Linked DNA regions of Homo sapiens: regions 1 and 2 are each linked to region 3. The links are contacts of gene promoters, found by promoter capture Hi-C in blood cells and fetal thymus (Javierre and others, 2016). All regions are on one chromosome and are shown on one strand. The core of a region is centred on a gene start or on the middle of the fragment in contact, and the rest is flanking DNA. Distances in the headings are between cores, read along the strand shown. Region 1 overlaps BOD1L1 (biorientation of chromosomes in cell division 1 like 1). Region 2 overlaps PACRGL (parkin coregulated like). Region 3 holds the start of MED28 (mediator complex subunit 28).

Evidence for each region. The method cuts DNA at HindIII sites, captures the fragments that hold promoters and counts their contacts. A CHiCAGO score of 5 or more calls a contact.
Region 1: a fragment that was not itself captured here is called in contact with the fragment with the promoter of MED28 in region 3 in 1 of 17 cell types (non-activated CD4 T cells); the score reaches 5.9 in non-activated CD4 T cells.
Region 2: a fragment that was not itself captured here is called in contact with the fragment with the promoter of MED28 in region 3 in 5 of 17 cell types (total B cells, total CD8 T cells, non-activated CD4 T cells and 2 more); the score reaches 14.7 in total B cells.

The regions. Positions count from the first base shown.
Region 1 is chr4:13,616,426-13,619,125 of GRCh38, forward strand. The region is part of intron 2 of BOD1L1 (biorientation of chromosomes in cell division 1 like 1); the gene reads right to left. Among named protein-coding and RNA genes, the nearest start is that of BOD1L1, 9.9 kb to the right of the region's middle. The HindIII fragment of the contact is 254 bases long and covers 1,222-1,475 here.
Region 2 is chr4:20,701,782-20,704,481 of GRCh38, forward strand. PACRGL (parkin coregulated like) reads left to right here. Exons shown (of 9, transcript NM_001258345.3): 2 at 2,685-2,700. Among named protein-coding and RNA genes, the nearest start is that of PACRGL, 2.7 kb to the left of the region's middle. The HindIII fragment of the contact is 483 bases long and covers 1,174-1,656 here.
Region 3 is chr4:17,613,204-17,615,903 of GRCh38, forward strand. It overlaps MED28 (mediator complex subunit 28), which reads left to right and starts at 1,438. Exons shown (of 4, transcript NM_025205.5): 1 at 1,438-1,610. The coding sequence starts at 1,452. MED28-DT (MED28 divergent transcript) reads right to left here and starts at 1,377. Exons shown (of 3, transcript NR_186331.1): 1 at 939-1,377; 2 at 729-835. RefSeq lists enhancers at 783-1,982, 1,088-1,377, 1,478-1,587. The HindIII fragment of the contact is 7,436 bases long and covers 1-1,528 here.

The DNA.
Region 1 (2,700 bases), core at 99-2,598, 4.0 Mb before region 3:
GACAAAAGAGCGATGAGGACAACAATCTGTGAAATGTGCTTCTGCACAAAGGCATCTGAGTAAAATAAGAGAACGTGAATTTATTTTAAGAAACACACTTAAATCTTGTTTCTTCCTAAAAAAGAAGTGGAGGAGTCAAGGTAGTCAGGATAGTGCTGGAAGATCAAAGTGCTCGTCATTTTTAGCTTCTAAGCCTCAACTGCTCTCTATGGAATGGATGAGGAGCCATCTTTCCTTACACTTTACAAATGCTATTTTTGAGTGCACTTCCATCTGGAGTGCAGGATGGATTAGTTTTTCATTTCTGGAAGCACCTTGTCGCCTTGTGAAACTATAATTCTACTTATGTGGGCCATAGAGAAAAATGAGCCAACTCAGCACAAAGTAGGTTACCTGCTTTTTAAAGATTAAAAAAAAATGCAAATCTTGCAAACACTGTTACATCTTAGAGGTGTATTTAAAATGTAGTAGGTAGAAAAGAAATAAGAAAAAGCAATCTTAAAAAAGGTTTTAGGGTACAAGTAAAAAGGTACAAAAAGGACCGGGCATGGTGGCTCACGCCTGTAATCCCAGCACTCTGGGAGGCCAAGGCGGGCAGATCACAAGGTCAGGAGATCGAGACCATCCTGGCCAACATGGTGAAACCTCATCTCTCCTAAAAATACAAAAATTAGCTGGGTGTGGTGGCACGTGCCTGTAATCCCAGCTACTTGGGAGGCTGAGGCAGGAGAATTGCTGGAATCCAGGAGGCAGAGATTGCAGTGAGCTGAGATGGCACCACTGCACTCCACCCTGGCGACAGAGCGAACTCCGTCTCAAAAAAAAAAAAAAAAATAGAAAATAGAAAAAAAAGTACCAAAAAAAAATTAAACTATCCACTCCCAAATTTTTGCTTCAGTCTCTTTCTCTGTTTGCCTATGTTCCAGCCTCTTGTTTTGCAAACAAACAAAACACTTCTGCTTTAGTCCTTTCTCACACAGAGGTCAGCTCTAATCTTACAGAAAAATGGAGTCCAGTACCAATGATCATACTGCACTTAGCGGCCATAACTGCCTCACCCAAGTGGGGAGAAGCTACAGCCCTAGGTCAACGGCAAAGCCAAAATGCCAACAGCTGGCGTTTTTCTGGTTAAAGTTACTTCCTTGTCTTCCTTTCAAATTATGTTTAGCTAAGTTCGTTATTCAGTTACCTAGGATTTTCAGATTCTGTTGTACAAATAAAAGCTTAAGTAGAATAAAATTTTCCCTCCTACTGAGTCAGCAGATCAGCTATTAAGTTGAACCATCTGAAATTACTGGTATTAGACCATTTTTGTCTTACAAAAATGGCAAGTGCAGATAGCTCAACCTAATGGAGTCAAGTGAGTATGTCTCAAAGCATACGTACAAAAAACTGTTTGAAATTATATTTATTTACAGGGGCTAGTCCACCCCTATACCTTCAGATTGAACATAACTAAATAATCTCTTTAAGGAAGCTTTAAAATGTTATTATCAGTATCATCCAAGAGAAGGCAGCTGTCTTCCCTCTTTCAAAATGTCTCCAGAAAAAGAGATTCCTCATTACTCATAGGCAAATTGCTCCAGCATTTAATCACTGACACAGCCACAAGAACCCCTGACCTCGCACCAAACATGATTTTGTGATCACAATATCTTACTGGTACAGCAATAATTTTAAGTGCTTAATTTTCACATGTGTAAGACTTAGTTCCCTTAAATAAAAGAATGACTGCTCCCTTACCTTATAGATTTTATACGCTATAAAAGTAAATGCAATTCTAAGAAGTTTGCCTTCAATCTGAGTGTCAATATATGAAGAAAAAAAATGCCAGACTCCCAAAAAAACATGCTTTTAAAGCAATGCAATCATTTGTGAACAGGGAGGTGGCTATGCAAATCACTGAATGAAAGTAATCAGTAGGGCTCTGTATAAATGTGTGTGAAGGGGTGCTCTACCCTACCTCCACTCCCTTATCCCCTAGTCCTAAGCTATTTTGGTCATTGTTCTCTTTGAAAGCCTTTGTGGAAACTACAGGCAGCGGGCCTGTCACCCAACAGATCTTTTTTGTTTCTACTTTTTCTAGAAACAGCTTTGACCTTTTCCCACCAGGTATTATTATGCAGCCTTCTAATGGCATCTTTTGATCTCACCTGGACTCTTTTACAGGTTCCTCAGACATCCTTTAAAATGTAGACAACAAAGCTATTGTGAATTTCCCTCTTCTCTTATGCACAAGGAGACACTGTCTGAGCCCCCAGGCTTCTGGTTTCTAGTATTACCTGTGGCTAAATAGGTTTGTCTTTTAGTCAGGGTGTGAATTTTGATTTGTGGGGCTTCCTGTTGGTTGAAACTATCAGACTAGATAGGCTTTCGAGAGGTTCCTATGGGACAAAAGGAAATTAAGAGGTGGCAGGTATAAAACAGATTTGTTTAACTGTTAAAAAAAAAAAAAGCTACACTTCATTCTCAAAGATGTACTTGAACATAAATACTTGTCAAGTCAGGGAGACTGGATGATCTCTAAATAACTTAGTCACCCTTTTTTTGAGGGGTATAGCAAGGGTAGAAGGCTTTCTTGTCTTTGCAAATATTTACATTCAAGAACAAGTAGTGGCCAGGTGAGGTGGCCCATGCCTATAATCCCAGCACTTTCAGAAGCCAAGGAGGGAAGATCCCTTGAGCCTAGGATTTGGAGAC
Region 2 (2,700 bases), core at 165-2,664, 3.1 Mb after region 3:
CCATGCCAAAGTCCTCCAGTCTGCTCTCCGTATCCGTGGTTGGGTCAAATCTATAGATGTGGAACCCGCATATACGGAGAGCCAACTGTAATTTGTCGTTAAGGTAAAGGATAAAAATTTTAAGTGAAAAAGCAATTGTTTTGGAAGGAAATTCTCTAATACAGGATTTTGAAAGGGGATGTAGACGTGTTTGCATTACTGTATGTTTAATGCTGAAAATTATATATTGTACATAAAAGTTGTCCTGTATACTCATAAACTGTAGAAGCTCGATTTTCTACCATGTTTAAAACTTTTTCAAATGAGTTTTGGTGACTTTTTGAACTCATTCAAAATATAATGCAACACCTCCCCATTAGTTTGTTACAGGAACAACTTTTTGACGTGAAGGAAGATAGAAATTTAGCCATAAAATTCCATCCAAAACTTCCACTGAATTGGTAGGTAGTATTGAAAAATGTGCATCATAATTTGATATGGCTGCCTGTGCCCTTGTTATGTTTGTGGGTACGCGTCTTTGCTGTGCATCGCTTTTATCTGTTGCAGCTGTTAACAATTGATGATCAAGAGAAATTGGACCTCAGCTGGTCTTCAAATTGATGTAGCCCAAGATGTTAAGCCAGATTTTTTAAAAATGACAAAACATGTGGTTTCACTATTAGTAATAGTAATACTGAAGAACACTTTGTACCATTGTAAAGAAAATTATAATAATAGCTAAGACTCATGTGGCCCTTACTGCATGCCTCCCATTATGGAAATGTTGTTTTACATATATTCTTACTAGTCTTCATCAACACTTAAAGTAGTTCCTGTAATTATGCCCAATTATAGAGTTGAGGAAACTGATGCATTTTTTTTTTCAATAGAAACTTGTGTTGTTCCCCCTCCAGGAGCTTCTCAAAACAGAAGTCAGGCACAATATTAAATACTTGTTGAATGATCACAGAAGTACAATAGTAGGTTAACATATTTAAAGCTTCTCTCAGCTTATTTTAGACTATTATCTGACAACTTTAATGAGATTTTAATTACCGTAGTATTAGAAAATGGCCCTGGGAATGGAGGTGAAGTGTGATACTGGGAAGTAAGTCATCTGCTGGTAGTGGGATGAGATAAATGAGATCAATGTACTAAATCAAGGAAATTGAAATTATTCAGTGTGCAGAAGCAAGCTTACATTTAGGTTATCTTTACATGGTATCAGACTTTAAGCTGGTACATCATGTTTGAGATATCTGGCTAAATTTTATAACATGGAGCTTTGTCCTCCTTTTGAGGATTTCTAACTTGTTAAGTGGATTAAAAGCATTTCATGTGAGGAATCATTTTAAAAAGTATCAGTGTTTATCCTGAAGAAGAAAAAATGAAGGAGTTAAGAGTTAATGCCATCAAATATTTGAAAAAGTGTCATTTGGAGGTGGAAGAGGACTTTACCTGTGTTGTCCTAAGGGAAGATCTTACACTATACTTGAGAGGCAGTCATTATTAAAGGCATTAAAATGAGACGTGTGCTAATAGAATAACTAGATTGTCGTGGAAGTGAGGGAACAGAGTAATCAAGTAGAAATAAGGACACAGGATAGAAATCAATGCCATAGAAATACACATTTGAGAAACCAAGATGAGGAAAGGCTTCATGGAAGTTGGGAATGAAGCTTGGCCTAAAAATACCAGTAGGCACTTGGGTATATGAGTGTGTGTGTGTGTGTGTGTGTGTGTGTGTGTGTTTGTGTGTGTGTATTTCTTGCTAGAGATACAATTGTAGAAATTGATTGGATTAGCTGGAAACCTTGGGGTATGAACTAGAGTCCTCCATTAGCAGAAAAAAAGCAACTGTGTAAGGGAAAAGTGAACCAGTATTCCCTGGGTGAGTAACTTGAGAGATAATTTCATTTGCACCTCCAGAAAACCTTGACAGGCTTTTATTTCCCTCTTTAAACAGGTCAGGAAGTCGAGGTTTAGGGAGGTTAAATAATCTGCCTAAATTCATAAATTTCATAATTGGTAGAACTGAGATGCAGACCCATATTTGAGCCCAAAGCTCTTTCTTTCTCATCACGTGTAGCATTGAGTGTAGGAAATGAAGGAAAAGGAGACAATGGTGATTCTAAGTTTTTCAGTCTGAGGACCAGAAAACTGGTGGTACCCTGGGTTAACAAGGGGTTCATAATAACTTCAGTGTGACAACCTCAGTTTTAGTTACATTCAGTTTAAGGAGCTTGTGATACATTGGGTAGGAGAGTTCATTATGTCACTGGAAAAGTAGAGCTTGATGTGCACATGTTAACATTTGGAGCTTTGGAAATACAGAGGCCAGAGAAGATGGAGAAGATGACAGGGAATGTACCAACCACTCCTTTCAGAAATCTAGTCTGTGTTTTCTAATGTGGTCAGAGAATTGGAAGTGAGTTTCTAACAGTTTATTTTGACAATTTGAATGGAAAAAAAGTTGACTTTTGTACATCATTTCTTGGAGATGATTATTTTGCTGTTATTGATACTATTGAAGTTGACATAATTTCATGTTTTCTCATTAGTCTTTTCCAGTATTTTGCTCCATATCAACTTTTTTGTGTGTCTTTTACTGTATTGTATACTCTGTTCTGGTTTTGTCTTTTTATTGATAACAAATGCCCCTCCAAACAAATTTTGAAATCAACTTTTTTTTTTTTAAACTGCAGGAGTGAAAGGGAAGCA
Region 3 (2,700 bases), core at 188-2,687:
CGGGCGGATTGTCTGAGCTCAGGAGTTCGAGACCAGCCTGGGCAACAAGGTGAAACCCCGGCGCTACTAAAATACAGAAAAACTAGCCGAGCGGCGGGCGCCTGTAGTCCCAGCTACTCGGAAGGCTGAGGCAGGAGAATTGCTTGAACCCAGGAGGCGGAGGTTTCAGTGAGCCGAGATCGCGCCACTGCATTCCAGCCTGGGCGACAGAGCGAGACTCCGTCACCAAAAAAAAAGAGAGAGATAAGCAAATGTTAAAAGCAGGTTACTACAAGATTAGCAGCCTAGTGCCGGGCGCGGTGGCTCACGCCTGTAATCTCAGCACTTTGGGAGGCCGAGTCGGGCGGATCACGAGGTTAGGAGATCGAGACCATCCTGGCTAACACGGTGAAACCCCATCTCTACCAAATATACAAAAAATTAGCTGGGCGTGGTGGCGGGCGCCTGTAGTCCCAGCTACTCGGGATGCTGAGGCAGGAGAATGGCGTGAACCCGGGAGGCGGAGCTTGCAGTGAGCCAAGATCGCGCCACTGCACTCCAGCCTGGGCGACAAAGCGAGACTCTGTCTCAAAAAAAAAAAATTAGCAGCCTGGCGCCTTGGCTCATTACTGTATTCCCAACACTTTGGGAGGCCGCGGCGGTAGAATCACTTGAGCTCAGTAAAACACCTGACTCAACTAAAAAAAAAAAAAAAAAAAAAAAAAAAAGCCCGTCGCGACTGCACGCACCTGTGGTCCTAGCTACTTGGGTGGCTGAAGTAGGGGGATTGTTTGAGCCCGGGAGGTCGAGCCCTGATCATGACACTGCACTCCGGCCAGGGCGACAGAACGAGACCCTGAGAAAAAAGAAAAGAAAGAAAAAAAAAGATTAGCATAGTGACTTTCTCTTTGATGTAACCATAAATATTTAAAGACATCAGTGCCGGGCACATTGGGAACCTCAACAAAGTTGTTTCCGTTATCCATCTCCGACCAGAATTCAGGAAGAACTTTGCCTGTCTTGTTCCCGCTATAACCAATGACTCAACAAATGTTTGTGGAGTGAGTGGGTGACCCTCTCCTTTTACCAACGGTAAACAGCCCGCGGAAAGAAAAAGTGACTTAGCCAAAGTCTCTCCAGGCATTTGGGGCAGAGTCGGGACTAGCATAGTAGTATCCTGACTCTCGCAGGAGGGCTCGCTCCACTGTAGTTATTAATTCTCCTCTCCACACAACCAGGTCTAATCCGGCCAAAGTCTTCAATTCTTAAGCTAAGAAAAAAGGAAAATACATGTAAACTCTGTTTTGCGATAGACAAGAAAACAGAAGAATTAAAAATCCTCCTTCCGGGGTGCACCAGAATCCTCCCATCGCTCGGTCCTGTCACGTGACCACGCCTACTACACCAGCCACGTGAGCTTCTGAGCCGGCTTCCGCGCAGGCGCAGTGGATCTCTCTTGCGCCATTCCAAACATGGCGGCTCCACTAGGGGGTATGTTTTCTGGGCAGCCACCCGGTCCCCCTCAGGCCCCGCCGGGCCTTCCGGGCCAAGCTTCGCTTCTTCAGGCAGCTCCAGGCGCTCCTAGACCTTCCAGCAGTACTTTGGTGGACGAGTTGGAGTCATCTTTCGAGGTAATATAAGACATGGGCGTCTTTGTCCCTAGCCTTCCCTTTTTTCTGAAACGTGAACTGCGCGTACGCGTATCTCCTCCAGGGATCCGAGCAACTAATTCACAAATGGGGAAACTGAGGCTTAAAGTAAGTCACTTGCTTTAGGCTTCCCCGTGGCCCGTATTCAATTCAGGTCTGCTGGCGGGGGCGCGTAAACTCGACGTTTGTGGAAACGTGAACCCGAAGTTTGCCTAAACCCCAAACTTGGAACCCTTCCAGATTCCCAGCCGGTCCTTAGTCTCATCCCCGAGCACCGTTTCTTGCATCCCTGCATGTTTAGTAAGAGGCTCAAGCCTTTTCGGAGCTGAGAGTTTCACTGCTGTATCCTGTATCCTTTCCGCTGGGCTTCACCTTTAAACGATCCTAAAGGGACTCTTAAGAGCGGAAATTGACTTAAGTTACCAGGCGCAGCTTGGTACTAAGAGCTGAGGAAGGAGGAATGCTGGAGGTTAGGGAGGGAGGGAGGCACAGGTGACCCAATCTCTCAGTTTTGCCCAAGGAGTTTACCTTGTAGCAAGAAAGGTGAACTGTATATTGAGGGAAGATAGAGAGGTGAAAATAAGTGCTCTGGTGATTTCCAGTAGTCTTTAAAGTGGAAGATGAGCTATTCCTGTGTAGTAATAAAGTAATGTACGTTCAAATTGGAGTTAACTTTTCCACATTTTAAATCCCAGTTTTGCCGGGCGCGGTGGCTCACGCCTGTAATCCCAGCACTTTGGGAGGCCGAGGCTGGCGGATCATGAGGTCAGGAGTTCGAGACCAGCCTGACCAACATGGTGAAACCCTGACTCTACTAAAAATACAAAAATTAGCCAGGCGTGGTGGCGTGCGCCTGTAATCCCAGGTACTCGAGAGGCTGAGGCAGGAGAATCGCTTGAACCTGGGATGCGGAGGTTGCAGTGAGCGGAGACCGCGCCATTGCACTCCAGCGTGGGTGACAAGAGCTCGACTCCGTCTCAAAAAAGTAAAATAAAATATAAATAAATAAAAATCCCAACTTTGTGACTTTTGTATTGTATCTAATAGCACAGTGGTAAATGAATATAATTTG